Linked DNA regions of Homo sapiens: all the other regions are linked to region 3. The links are contacts of gene promoters, found by promoter capture Hi-C in blood cells and fetal thymus (Javierre and others, 2016). All regions are on one chromosome and are shown on one strand. The core of a region is centred on a gene start or on the middle of the fragment in contact, and the rest is flanking DNA. Distances in the headings are between cores, read along the strand shown.

Evidence for each region. The method cuts DNA at HindIII sites, captures the fragments that hold promoters and counts their contacts. A CHiCAGO score of 5 or more calls a contact.
Region 1: a fragment that was not itself captured here is called in contact with the fragment with the promoter of CYP24A1 in region 3 in 1 of 17 cell types (neutrophils); the score reaches 5.1 in neutrophils.
Region 2: a fragment that was not itself captured here is called in contact with the fragment with the promoter of CYP24A1 in region 3 in 1 of 17 cell types (neutrophils); the score reaches 7.1 in neutrophils.
Region 4: a contact is called between a fragment that was not itself captured here and the fragment with the promoter of CYP24A1 in region 3, in 4 of 17 cell types (monocytes, megakaryocytes, neutrophils and 1 more). The highest score is 7.1, in monocytes.
Region 5: a contact is called between a fragment that was not itself captured here and the fragment with the promoter of CYP24A1 in region 3, in 1 of 17 cell types (total CD8 T cells). The highest score is 5.7, in total CD8 T cells.

The regions. Positions count from the first base shown.
Region 1 is chr20:53,451,812-53,454,603 of GRCh38, reverse strand. All of the region lies in intron 2 of TSHZ2 (teashirt zinc finger homeobox 2), which reads right to left. TSHZ2-AS1 (TSHZ2 antisense RNA 1) reads left to right here. Exons shown (of 6, transcript NR_187667.1): 4 at 1,496-1,667. Among named protein-coding and RNA genes, the nearest start is that of TSHZ2-AS1, 51 kb to the left of the region's middle. The HindIII fragment of the contact is 859 bases long and covers 843-1,701 here.
Region 2 is chr20:53,369,887-53,372,586 of GRCh38, reverse strand. The region is part of intron 2 of TSHZ2 (teashirt zinc finger homeobox 2); the gene reads right to left. Among named protein-coding and RNA genes, the nearest start is that of TSHZ2-AS1, 130 kb to the left of the region's middle. The HindIII fragment of the contact is 2,991 bases long and covers 1-2,700 here.
Region 3 is chr20:54,172,570-54,175,269 of GRCh38, reverse strand. It overlaps CYP24A1 (cytochrome P450 family 24 subfamily A member 1), which reads left to right and starts at 1,284. Exons shown (of 12, transcript NM_000782.5): 1 at 1,284-1,948; 2 at 2,171-2,361. The coding sequence starts at 1,691. RefSeq lists an enhancer at 1,061-1,654. The HindIII fragment of the contact is 2,450 bases long and covers 17-2,466 here.
Region 4 is chr20:53,566,701-53,569,400 of GRCh38, reverse strand. ZNF217 (zinc finger protein 217) reads left to right here. Exons shown (of 6, transcript NM_006526.3): 6 at 137-2,330. All of the region lies in intron 3 of ZNF217-AS1 (ZNF217 antisense RNA 1), which reads right to left. Among named protein-coding and RNA genes, the nearest start is that of ZNF217-AS1, 15 kb to the right of the region's middle. The HindIII fragment of the contact is 4,272 bases long and covers 1-2,700 here.
Region 5 is chr20:53,425,702-53,428,401 of GRCh38, reverse strand. The region is part of intron 2 of TSHZ2 (teashirt zinc finger homeobox 2); the gene reads right to left. Among named protein-coding and RNA genes, the nearest start is that of TSHZ2-AS1, 77 kb to the left of the region's middle. The HindIII fragment of the contact is 1,786 bases long and covers 360-2,145 here.

The sequences.
Region 1 (2,792 bases), core at 23-2,522, 720 kb after region 3:
ACACATTTAACATTAGTTTTTAAAGACTTTTTTTTTTTTTTTGAGACCAAGTTTCACTCTGTCACCCAGGCTGGAGTGCAGTGGTACGATCTCAGCTCACTGCAACCTCCACCTCCTGGGTTCAAGTGATTCTTCTGTCTCAGCCTCCCGAGTAGCTGGGACTACAGGCACGTGCCACCATGCCCGGCTAATTTTTGTATTTTTAGTAAAGATGGGGTGTCACCATATTGGCCAGGCTGGTCTCAAAATCCTGACCTCGTGATCTGCCTGCCTTGGCCTCCCAAAGTGCTGGGATTACAGGTGTGAGCCACCACGCCTGGCCTTTAAAGACATTTTAAAGGGCTCCACGGGTTTCATCAGACAGCCAAAGAAGTCCACAGCCTAAGACAGTTAAGCAGTTTTGTGGCCTAAAGAAACCAAGGGTCCTCTAAGTCTAGCAGTTCTTAATCTTGGATGAGCATCACAGAAAGGTTGGTGAAGCCTGGAATTTTCAGTAGCAATTGTCACTCAAGTTGTTTAAGTTTATGGCAAAGACAAGAGATGACATTGTAAGCAGAATTTAGCATTTTGGTGCATGTGTGTATATGAAGTTATAGGTAGACTTGATTTTCCTGGAGAGAGAATCTGTAGCTCTCATGATATTTTCAAAAAGGCTCTTGACCCAAGTAGGAGTTCAGAGCCACCATTCTAGAAGAAGAGGTCCTAGGATGGTGACTTCTTCCAAACCAGTCTGTCATTCCCAGGAATAGTCCCAAACATGTAGCCTGATTACTGTTTGGAGAATTCCATTTCTCTGGGCATCCCTCTCCTACCCTGGCCTATTTTCAAGCAAATCTAAAGCTTCGAGTTTGTCCAAAATCAAGAAGATTTCCTACAAGAGGCTAAATGAGTGGTCACAGAAATGTTTGTATGAAGGATTCCCCCAATATCTGCTTTTATGTGAGAAGGGAGAGCCAGCGGCTCCCTACGTTAATCTTCATTATCACATAAGTGGCTTTTCCCCTCCTGGTTTTAAATTAAGATACCCTGGACATTTTGCTTTGCTTCCACTCCACACACAATCACACGATGGAGCATTGTAATTAAACCTCCTCTATTATTAGAGCACAGGAAAAAAAAATTCATGGCTGGTCTGAAGGACCCCAAGCTAGGAAAGAGAAAGGTAAACATTTAATTTGTTGTTGTTTCTATAAATCAGGGCCCAGTCATCAATTTCACCACATATTTGAGAGCACATGTTATTGACAATGTGTTCGTAGAGAAAAATGGAGTTTGCTGGCAAAGTTGTTCCAGTTTCTAAAGATTAAATTGTTCATTGTACAGGCCGCCATCTGCCCTCCCTGGAAGATATTTAGTTGTTGGCAGAGGCATTCAAAGTCTAGAAGACAAAGTTAAATTTCATTTTCTTTATTGCTATGCCTAACCAAAGGCGAATTCATTCATTCATTCATCAGTTCATTCAATATTTACCAAGTGTCTCTTTTGTGCCATACAGACGAATAAAGTCAGACAGCTTCCAAGGAGTGGATGCTTATGGAGAGATCACATGGAGCCTTGTAGCTGATTTATAATCTCATGGTCCTCATTCATACATCAAACCCCTGAAGGCCTGGCATTTTTATCTCCCGACTCAACCTGCATGCTACCAGAAGCTCGACAAAATTACGGTGAATAAGACATGCTTCTTCCCTTCAAGAAGCTTCTAGTCAATGGAGGATATGTAAGGCAGCAATCTAACAGCAATACAACACTAAACGTTCCTTGAGAAAAACACAAACAACAGGCAGAACTCATGTCTGAGTAGAAGCTTCTTAGAAGAACTGAGTAGAACTTGGAAGAAACATGTACCTCCTTCACACACATAATATTGTTTTATACTATGCTATCTTGTTGTAGGGGTACGTGTTGATATATAACCCCATTTTGCATGTGAAGTCAATGGGCTCAGTGGGCTCAGAGAGATACAGTGATTGATTTGTTCTAGTTCCTTTTTTTTTTTTTTTTTGAGACAGAGTCTCACTGTGTCACCCAGGCTAGAGTGCGGTGGCTCAATCTTAGCTCACTGCAGGCTCCACCTCCCAGGTTCAAGCAATTCTCTGCCTCAGCCTCCCGAGTAGCTGGGATTACAGGTACACTTTACCATGCCCAGCTAATTTTTGTATTTTTAGTACAGATGGGGTTTCACCACGTTGGCCAGGCTGGTCTTGAACTCCTGACCTCAAGTGATTTACCTGCCTCGGCCTCCCAAAGTGCTGGGACTACAGGCGTGAGCCACCACGCTTGGCCTGCTCTAGTTCTTGTAGGTAATAAGAGATGGTGTTAAATTCCTGTAACTAATAAGAGATGGGCTCAAATTCTCCCTTGAACTCTAAGTCTGGCCCCTGGGCCACATAAAGTAGGTCCTCTAAGCCCCTTACACTGTGCACAGTTCAGCCCTAAGCCACTTGCCTAGACCCATTGCATGAACTGCAGCTGAAGCTGCTCCTGTCCCCTTCATTAGTCATCTGGGGTTACTGACTTCCCTTTGTTCTTCACACTTGATGACAGCACTCTTGTCTTGCCCATGTCTTGACTATTCTTGACTATAATTTGAACCTTTATTTTCAGGCTACCCTTTCTTGAGTAACACTAAGTCTATCTAGCCTTGGATTCGACCTGCTTTCTAGGCTCTTCTCACCTGGGTTCCCCCAGACTTTACTAGCAAAACAATTCATTCATTCATTCCACAAATACCAATTGAATCTTTACTGTGTTCCTACTGTACTAAGTGGTGATCAAAATTGGAAGGATCC
Region 2 (2,700 bases), core at 7-2,506, 800 kb after region 3:
CTTGGAGACAAGAGAACTGGTATTGGGTGAATAAACTGGGTCCTTCCTTCCCTTCCTCCCTCCCTTCCTTCCTTCTTTCCTTCCTTCCTTTCTTCCTTCTTTATTTTTTTGAGACAAGATCTCACTCTGTCACCCAGGCTGGAGTGTAGTGGTGTGATCTCCGATCACTGCAACCTCTGCTTCTTGGGTTCAGGCGATTTTCCTATCTCAGCCTCCCGAGTGGCTGGGACTACAGGTGCGTGACACTACGCCTGGCTAATTTTTTCTTTTTTCAGTAGAGATGGGGTTTCACCATGTTGGCCAGGCTGGTCGCAAACTTCTGACCTCAAGTGGTCCGCCTGCCTTGACTTCCCAAAGTGCTAGGATTACGGCATGAGCCACTGCACTCGGCCTGAACTGAGTACTGACTGAAGAGAGTCACCTCAAAATTGATGGCCGTTTGGAACCTCAGAATGTGACCTTATTTGGAAATAGGGTCTTCCCATTTGTAATTAAGATGAGGTCAGACTCAATTAGGGTGGGCCCTAATTCAATGACTGAGGACACAGAAACACAGAGAAGGAGGCAGATATTGAGTGATGCTGCCACAAGCCGAGGGGCACCAGGGATTGTTGGGAGTCACGGGGAAGTTAGAGGCAGGAAGACTCCTTTTCTAGAGCCTTCTGAGGGAGCATGTCCTGCTGACTCTTTTTTTTTTCTTTTTTTTTTTTTTGAGACGGAGTCTCTCTCTGTAGTCCAGATTGGAGTGCAGTGGCATGATCCAGCTCACTGCAACACCCGCCTCCTGGGTTCAAGCAATTCTTGTACCTCAGCCTCTGGAGTAGCTGGGACTACAGGCATGTGCCACCATGCCCCGCTAACTTTTATATTTTTAGTAGAGATGGGGTTTCATCATGTTGGCCAGGCTGGTCTGAAACTCCTGGTCTCAAGTGATCCGCCCACTTCGGCCTCCCAAAGTGCTGGGATTATAGGCGTGAGCCACCCCCTCCTCCCCAGCTCCTGCTGACTTTTGATGGCAGACTCTGTCCTTCAGAACTGTGAGAGAGCACATTTCTGTTGCCCTGTGTCACCCAGTGTGTGGTCCTTCATACAGCCATCCCAGGAAACAAATACACCGCCTAACACTGTTCTGAAGACTAGAATGTGTCTGACTTGACCTGGGTCTTGCAGCCAGGACAATCCTGTTTGGAAACCCGTATGAACTCTCTCACATTCATCATTCACTTCCTGGAGAGACAGATTTTGTAAACTTTACAGAGCAGCTTTTAATCATTCGGTGGTTCCCAGATTCCTAGGCCAGAGTCTCTATACTGAATAATTTATAATAGAGGTCATATCCATCATGGTGGCTTGAATTCTGTCCTCCCAAGAACACAGGCTCAAGTCCTGACCCCTCCTACCTGTGAATGGGACCTTATTTGGAAATGGAGTCTTTGCAGGTGTAATTCAGTTAAGATGAGGTAGGCCCGAAAAGCAATGACTGACAGTCCTATAAGAAGAGAGGACGGAGACCCATGGAGAAAGCTGTTTGAACAAGGAAGCAGAAGCTGGAGCGATGCGGCCGCAACCCAAGGAACACCAGAAGCTGGAAGAGGCCAGGATGGGCTCATCCCTAGCATCTTCAGAGGGAGTGTGGCCTTGCCTTCACCTTGATTTCCAACCTCCAGCGTCCACAACTGCGAGAGAATTAATTTCTGCTGTTTTAAGCCACTGAGTTTGTAGTAATTTGTTATAGCAGCTCCAGGAAATGAACGTGCCATCCCTCAGCCAAACCCAACCCACAAATGTGTTTTATGGGCTCACGTGGTTTTGTTTTGTTTTTTGAGATAAGGTCTTGCCCTGTCGCCCAGGCTGGAGTGCAGTGTCATCATCACGGCTCACTGCAGCCTTGAACTCCTGGCCTCAACCGATCTTCCCACCTCAGCCCCCTGAGTATCTGGGACCACAGATGCATGCCACCATGCCTGGCTAATTTTTAAAAATTTTTTTGTAGAGATGGGGTCTTGCTATGTTGCCCAGGCTGGTCTCAAACTCCTGGGCTCAATCTATCCGTCTGCCTCGGTCTTCCAAAGTGCTGGGATCACAGGTGTGAGCCACAATGCCTGGCCTTGTTTAGTTTTTAATTAAAGCGGTTGCTAATATTTATGAACGGAGAGATTTAACATAAAAACCATGATTTCTGTTTCTTTTTGAAAAATTTGAGGCGGAGATGGTAACCCTGAGACTTTCCACGGAGAAACTGAGCAGGGCTGCTCTCCCTTCACAAAGAGCCTGCCCAGAGCAGCTCCCCAGGTCCCCTCCTCCGGGAAGTCCACCTGCCTGACTCCTTGGCTTTCCTCTCAGGCTTTCCATGTCCTTCATGCCCTCGTCGGCTCAGGATTCTTTAAAGCTGCTCTCTGAATTTTAGAGACTAGAAAAGTGAAACCCAGAAATAGAAATTCCTTGCCTACTGTCACCCAGCATGTCTGGAACAGAGGATGGCTGGGACACAGACTTCAGATTCCTGAACTTCCTACGACACCGTGACACTCCCACCTACAGAATGCCACCAGACGTCTCCTGACATTCCCAGACTTCTGGATTTCACAGATCAGATTAAAAAAAATTTCAAGGAATCGACACAATAACTTTCCAACACAAAGAACACTGCCTTACCATCTTTGCATTAAAGAAAGGCGTTTCTATCACCAGTGTAGTGGA
Region 3 (2,700 bases), core at 35-2,534:
TGATGGTGTTAAAGCTTAAGTTGGACTGCAAAAGATTTTTAAGAAACAAACTAGAGGCTTACAAAAGAATTTACCAGGGAAGGATTTGCCAACACTTGGGGCAAAAATGACTGAGACACGTAATTGAAAAGCAGGGCGAGGAAACAGAATGTCCCTCCCCTCCTCCCTGGCTGGTGGTAGTTTTGTATTGGATCAGGTTGAAAGGATTCGAGCCACTTTAAAACAATCAACAAAAATCTCCAACTTCCGTTCCTGAATTAGCAAAGCGAGTTCTACTCTTGCCAGCCGCGGTAACTCTAGAAATTGTGTATGTTTGTCACTGGACCTGCCTAGGACGCACCTTGGGGGAGAGGGGGAGTACTGGGGGCGGTGGTTTCAAGCTCTGTGTGCCCCTCCTTTGCACAAGGTAGTCGGTGTAGAAGAACAGAGGCGGGCAGTGGACATAGGGGAGGTGGCCCAGCCTGAATTCAAGCATCGTTGGTGCAAGCCACGCTCTCAAGGCGCATTTCCTAACTTCCTAAAGAAGTAACAACAGCAACTAACTTTTATTGACTGTTGACTATAGACAAGGCTTCGTTGTTGCCGCTTTACGTGCATTAATTCATTTAATCTGCAAAACAACCAAACATGAAACAGCAGGAAGGAAATTCTACAAACTCCCCTTCTTGCTCAAGTTAAGAAAGTCTCCTCTTCTGGTGCATTTCAGTAAGACTCAAATCCTCCCCACCCTGGGAGGCGCAGAAAGCCAAACTTCCTCCAAAAAAAAAAAGGCAAAAAAAAAAAAAAAATCACTTCAGTCCAGGCTGGGGGTATCTGGCTCCCCGGGAGGCGCCCGGGCTCCCCGGGGCCCTGGCAGACGCCGGCAGCTTTTCTGGGCCCGCACTCGGGGACCTCGCCCGCCCGGCATCGCGATTGTGCAAGCGCCGGGCGGCAACCACGGCCGCCGCTGCCGGCTCCTGCCCGCCGGGGGAGGGCGGGGAGGCGCGTTCGAAGCACACCCGGTGAACTCCGGGCTTCGCATGACTTCCTGGGGGTTATCTCCGGGGTGGAGTCTGCCGCCCCCACCCCACCTCCCGCGCCCAGCGAACATAGCCCCGGTCACCCCAGGCCCGGACGCCCTCGCTCACCTCGCTGACTCCATCCTCCTTCCACCCCCCCTCCCCTGGGTCCCGCGTCCCTCGGAGTCTGGCCAGCCGGGGGCCACTCCGCCCTCCTCTGCGTGCTCATTGGCCACCCAGGGCATGCTCTGTCTCCATAAATGCATGGTCCCTGGGCATAGGAACATGGAGAGGGACAGGAGGAAACGCAGCGCCAGCAGCATCTCATCTACCCTCCTTGACACCTCCCCGTGGCTCCAGCCAGACCCTAGAGGTCAGCCTTGCGGACCAACAGGAGGACTCCCAGCTTTCCCTTTTCAAGAGGTCCCCAGACACCGGCCACCCTCTTCCAGCCCCTGCGGCCAGTGCAAGGAGGCACCAATGCTCTGAGGCTGTCGCGTGGTGCAGCGTCGAGCATCCTCGCCGAGGTCCTTTCTGCTGCCTGTCCCGCCTCACCCCGCTCCATCACACCAGCTGGCCCTCTTTGCTTCCTTTTCCCAGAATCGTTAAGCCCCGACTCCCACTAGCACCTCGTACCAACCTCGCCCCACCCCATCCTCCTGCCTTCCCGCGCTCCGGTGTCCCCCGCTGCCATGAGCTCCCCCATCAGCAAGAGCCGCTCGCTTGCCGCCTTCCTGCAGCAGCTGCGCAGTCCGAGGCAGCCCCCGAGACTGGTGACATCTACGGCGTACACGTCCCCTCAGCCGCGAGAGGTGCCAGTCTGCCCGCTGACAGCTGGTGGCGAGACTCAGAACGCGGCCGCCCTGCCGGGCCCCACCAGCTGGCCACTGCTGGGCAGCCTGCTGCAGATTCTCTGGAAAGGGGGTCTCAAGAAACAGCACGACACCCTGGTAAACCCCTTTTCGCGCCCCTGACTCTCTCCTCCCTCTTCCGCCCTCCCAGTGGCGCTCCAAACCCTCCCCGACATGCGCGCCTCGGGCGCATGGTGCGCTTCGGCGTCTGGGCAGGGAGGGTCCCCGGTCCCCTAGGAGGAAGGAGGCGGGAGGAGGGAAAGCGCTTCGGGCACGGCGGAGGATGCGCGCTGACACCGCGCTGTGCCCGGCCGGCTGCAGGTGGAGTACCACAAGAAGTATGGCAAGATTTTCCGCATGAAGTTGGGTTCCTTTGAGTCGGTGCACCTGGGCTCGCCATGCCTGCTGGAAGCGCTGTACCGCACCGAGAGCGCGTACCCGCAGCGGCTGGAGATCAAACCGTGGAAGGCCTATCGCGACTACCGCAAAGAAGGCTACGGGCTGCTGATCCTGTGAGTCCAATCCGAGGGACCTGGGCATGCGGCCAGACCTGATGAGCCTGACGGCGCCTGGAAATTGTGAAGAGGCGGAGTTAGAGTTCCCTGGGGTTGGAAGCTTCTTACGTAGGGCGGATACCAAAGCCCCTCTCCCGTGCCATCGCAACCCTGAGCTCTTGTACAGATTAGAGTCGGTCCACGGAAAAGCCGTGCTGTGCACCCAGCACCTGCGTTCTCTCTGGCAACAGGGCAGGGCCACACCCTCCCATCAAAGAAACGCCAAAACAGGGTTGTACCAACTGTGGTGTTCAGACTCTTGGGCAGGATGAGGTTCTGAAGTCAGCGTACCAGGCA
Region 4 (2,700 bases), core at 57-2,556, 610 kb after region 3:
AAACAACAACAACAAATAGAACCCATTGCATTTCTAGGTCAGTTTGGTTCTATGTATTACGCTTTTTTAAAGAAAGAATTTTCTAAACTGTATTCAGTTTTGATCTTAATCATTTAAAAAATGTTGTTTTCCTTAGGTCTTGGTGGATGTCAGTGCTTACTCCCCATGAAATTAAATTTTACTTCATCCTTTGAGAAGCGAATGGTGAAAGCTACTGAAATAAGCTGTGATTGTACTGTACATAAAACATATGAGGAATCTGCAAGGAACACTACAGTTGTGTAAAGTTGTTCTGTTAACTTTTGTACCAAATAGCAATACAAACTAGTTGGAACAGTTGGAACTTACATACATGGGGACTGGAAATCTCTATTTTGTCCCTGAATAATATTTTTCTTAGAATTGACCAAATAAGAAGTGGAATTTTTGCATACTTGAGCGCTGCTGAAAAGAAATCATTTGGGTTGGGTGGGGCGGGATGGGGGAAAAGTATATAATGCTTGCACCTCAGGTAAAAATCTGTAAATATCTAAGTTGTAAACCTGCTTGTTCAAATACTGTGTGTATTCCTTTTCTCTAATGCAGCTCATCACTTGGAGCAGTTTCTGCTATTGTGCTCTTTCATTTAAAATGTATGTTTTTTTTTTTTTAAACTGTCAATGATTTTGTATTATGTTGAATCCACCCAAATCTATTGTTGTCTTAAAATTGTTAATGGAAGTATTGACCCTCTATGATATGTGCTGCAGATATCGAGGTCAGCCATTCGGAAGCTGGCAGCATTTTATCGCAACTTTGAGCATCTCAGATGGGGAAGGCACCTTCTTCCTCGCCTCTCCAGATTGTCCTGGAACCTCCAGGATCCTTGACTGAGGGCGTTGGGATGGCTTGTAGGATTTTTAAGAGAGTGTGTCTACAGACAAGCATTTTCTCTGTAGAGCAGCCACACGTTGTATAAACATAAACTGTATGTGCAGTTATTTAAATTTGTTTCTGTCAAATTAATCATTTTTGTTGGACGATTCAGTGGCGGGGGGGTTTTGCCTAAATTAGTATATAAAAACAAAAATGCTAAATTATATCTGTGAATTGCAGGTATTGGGGAACAGTTTTAAGGGAAATTTTGGGGGGAACATTTTAGGTTTGTATTTGGTAGTCTTAATGTATCTGGCATTTGGGTGAACTGTGGACATACTAGAGTTGATTATAGACACATTGATTTTGAATAAGGAACTGCTGGCCGAGCCCGCTGGGAGTCTAGAAAGAGAAAATCTGTTTCTAGACCTCAGTTATTTTCCCATTTTTGGTTGTTTTGAAGCAGTAACATTTTTCTCAGTGCACATGCAATTTGGGTTTTAGAGAAGATGGCCACCAGCTGGCTTCCTAGATATTTTAAACTTTTGTTCTTTAATATGCTGTCCATGGCTGAGTTTATTAGTACATGGGCTTAGTGACCACAAAATATTTTATTAAGAAACTGTTTCAAAAATAAATTTGCACTGTTCATTTTTCTGGCCTCGCTGTTCTCCATAGAGCAAGGGTAATCCTAGAAAAAATTTTTTTTTTTTAAATTATGCAACGTAAGATGTCCTCCTTGATAGAAGTCTTAGCTCCTGTGTTACAAGGGAGAACTCATTTGAGATCAGTCTGTTGGCATTGCAATGAAGTGCTTTGTATCAGGAAAGTGTACACTATTGACCTTTTTTCCTGTTCACAAGCTGAGCCATATGTACATAATCTAGATTTTGTTTTCATAGTTTTGCACTTTTATAGCCTATTTTTGAAGATTAACACATTTGCAAGATGATTGACTCAATCTTTGCCTAATCCAATGAGTGTTACAGAGAGCTTGCTGTGACTAGAACCATAAATCTTAAAGGGGGTATGTGATAATAGAGGGCTGGAATTTAAACCTGTATTTAAAAAAAAGAATCACCAAATCTATTTGAAAACAAGTCGATTTGTATTATGCTGGAATTTTTTGGGCTTTCAGATTTCTCTTTTTAACCACATTTCTGAATGTATAAAAATACCAATTATTTTCCTACAGCCCTTTGTACTTCAAAATATGTTTTTGTGTCCATCAGTATTAACTATTGGTATACTACTGGTTTTATATTTTTTTTTCTTTGAGACAACAGTACATATAATAGAGGTACAATTCGTTGGATTTTTGTTTATGTATTTATTTCATTCCAGTTTGATTTATTTTAATTGTTGATACTTAAGTTGTCGAACAGTAGACATTACTTGTTTTATTTATGATATATTTCAGCTTAAAGTTATGTTATTATATGTGGAAGTGTAAATATAGATTTGGTGTTTTGCAATCTTGAGTTTTAGTGTTTATTGTGTTTCTGGTTTCTGATTTTGTTTTATTTAACTTTTTAGTTTTCTTTCTTTTTTTTTTTTTTGAGATGTGCTCCTGCTCTGTCACTCAGGCTGGAGTGCAGTGGTGCAATCACAGCTCACTGCAGCCTTGAACCCCTGGGCTCAACTGATCCTCCAGCTCTCGGCCTCCCGAGTATCGAGCCATCATGCCTGGCTTATAAACACAATTTTAAGGCCAGCACGTGGCTCACGCCTGTAATCCCAGCCCTTTGGAAGGCCAAGGCGGGTGGATCACTTGAAACCAAGAGTTTGAGACCAGCCTGGCCAACATGGCGAAACCCCGTCTTTACTAAAAATACAAAAATTAGC
Region 5 (2,700 bases), core at 3-2,502, 750 kb after region 3:
CCAGAAAAGTGACTTAGAATTAGTGCCATGTTTTCTACAGAGAGCTATAATAATAATACACAGTGCCTTTCTTGGCACTTAAAGTACACAGTTAAGATTTCAGCACAATTGTTAAAGAAGGAGCTACACATCTCATTCACCAACGAGAAGACTGAGTTTGTGAAAGAGCTGCGGAGCAAATTCTCTAACTCCATTTCTGCATTTCCTAATTTGCTGACTTTCCACATGACCTGGGCCAGCCTAACAGATACTTCTCCTCCACATCATGCCCCCACAGAGACTTCTCATTCCTGGAATCAGTGCTGGAGAATGATTTGGACTGAGTCACTTAAAAATAGAGATGTTAGTTGGTGCAAGCTTTGTACAAAGCCTTTATCAGTAGAGTCCAGAGTGTGCCAAATCAGATAATTTGGATAAGTTAAAGGATTTCTGGAAGGCCACATGATCTCAGACCCATCTCGCCCATGTCCCCCTCCATGTTAGAGTCCTTAGTATTAATGTTTGAGAGACTTTTCTTAGTTGACCATCAATGCTGGGTGAGGGCTCTAGGCCTTCCATCCCTTTCTTAACATGCTTGAAGTTCTTGGAAGTCAGGATGCAGCTGGGATTCACTGGAGAAGACCATGGAAAGGCAGCAGTAAGTTGGGGGGCACATTGTATGAAGGACAAACATTCCCGGGAGGTGACCCTCTACTGCAGTGGATAGAGCTATTCACTTCAGACCCTCAAAATACATGGCTCTTATTCAAACTTAGCTATTTCTGTTCTCTATTTTGGATTCAGAAATCTGTGTCTTTGTGAGCCTCTTAGCTTCACATCCAACCACCCTGGGCTTGTTGCTTTCTCTAAAGTTGAAGAGAGGAAGCCAGGTGGAATTCCTTTTCTAGGTATACCTGCCTGCTCAAGTTAAAGATGAACTTCCACAGTTTTTTTCCCCCTACAGATTCTGGTGTTTAAGTCGACAGGGGTGGGTGGTGGGGGTGGGGATCTGGCATGCAACCCGGAAGGGTAGGAGAAACTGAAATCATACCTCGCGTCTCTCCACAAAGGTTTGATTCTCTTTATGAGTAGGATCCGCCAATCCGTAATCAAGGGTTAATTTCACAGCTCACTGCTTCATCTAGCATAATATCCATTCAGACTAATTAAATCTGTCTAATAATGTGAGTGTCTTTGTCTTTGTTCTTCCCCTTCTTTGTGCTACACCCTTCACATCTCATCTCCAGAACCACACGCCATCACACTCTACTTGACAAGCAGAATCCATCCCTAAAATTAAAACATTCCTGACCTATCTGCAATGACAAGGCAGGCGAGCTTCACGGCGCTCCAGCCCATGAAGGGAGCTGACACATTTGTTTTTAATTTCAAAAGAGTAGAAAGTGAAGATCTGACCCCGTCAATCAAGCCCTGTGACAAGTTTAATCATTGGTGCCCCACAAAAATCACGGCTAAATAGGAATGCAAATACTGTATCACAGGGCTCTTATAAATGCTAATCAAGGAGAAGTAATCAACTGACAATTTCACTGATCTCTTTTCTGAAGAAGTCACTCAATGCTCTGTCTCTGGGCCACAAAGAGAAGAGAAAAAGACAAAAGGGATGTATGAGCTTCCCCTCCACCTTCCTTTTATTTTTCCTTCCAGGACATTTCTTTCTAAAGAGAGAATTCTCTCTTTTGATCCATCATTGAACTTTAAAGCAAAGAACTTACGCAGTTATATGTCAAGTATACTTTATTAGCAGTACCCAGGCTGGGCAGAAAACGCGCTGAAACTTCCGCTAAAATAAAAATCATCATTTATCTTTGTCATTAATCTGTTCTCAAATTCTCTTATATCTTAAAAGTGACTGACCTTCTCTGTTAAGAGGGGGAGGGAAAAAAAGTTTGATAAGTAGTCAAAAATCTGAAAATTGTGATCACCGTAACTTAAAAAAAGAAGAAGAGGAAGAAGAAAATTCCCTGTAAAAACATAAGCCATAGTTGATAAAGAATTTATAACCACCAAGAAGTTCTGAGCCAAGGGTCTCCCCCAGTCACCTTCTCCAATGGTTGACTGCTTAGGGAGAGAGGACAGAAATTAGAGGCCTATTTTTCATGTTCAATTTTACACAGGACCTGAGGGCTTTGTATTTCCAAAGCTTACAACTTGAGGACTTTCCTCTTTCTTCTTCTCCATTTTATTTTTTAACCAGGAAGTCCTGAAGCAATCAAAATCATTGGTTACTTCCTACCGTAAACAACCCTTTCATGAAGTCATAGCAGGAAAAGAAAAAAAGCCAGCACTCAGTTACTCGGAGTTTGTCCTCCCCTGTTTATCCTGGGCTAGGTAAACAGAACATTCCAGAAGTTCAGATATTGGTAGATTAATTCCTATAGTGGTAACTGAACTGAGTTCCCAATATCGAGGGTAATTTCTTTCATCTTAAGGATAGAAAAGTGGGAATTTATGGGTTTTTTTGGAGACAGCAGGAATTCCCTTTTTTGTCATGTTCTATGTAAGGGAGGGATGGACCAAATTCAGCCTGCTACCTGTTTCTGTATGACCCAGGTGTTAAGAATAATGTTTATATTTTTAGATGGTGAGAAAAAAAAAAACAAAAGAACGTTTTATGACATAAACACTACCTGCAATTCAAATTTCAGTGTTCACAAATAAAGTTTTATTGGAACATGGCCTGGCCTATTATTATATTGT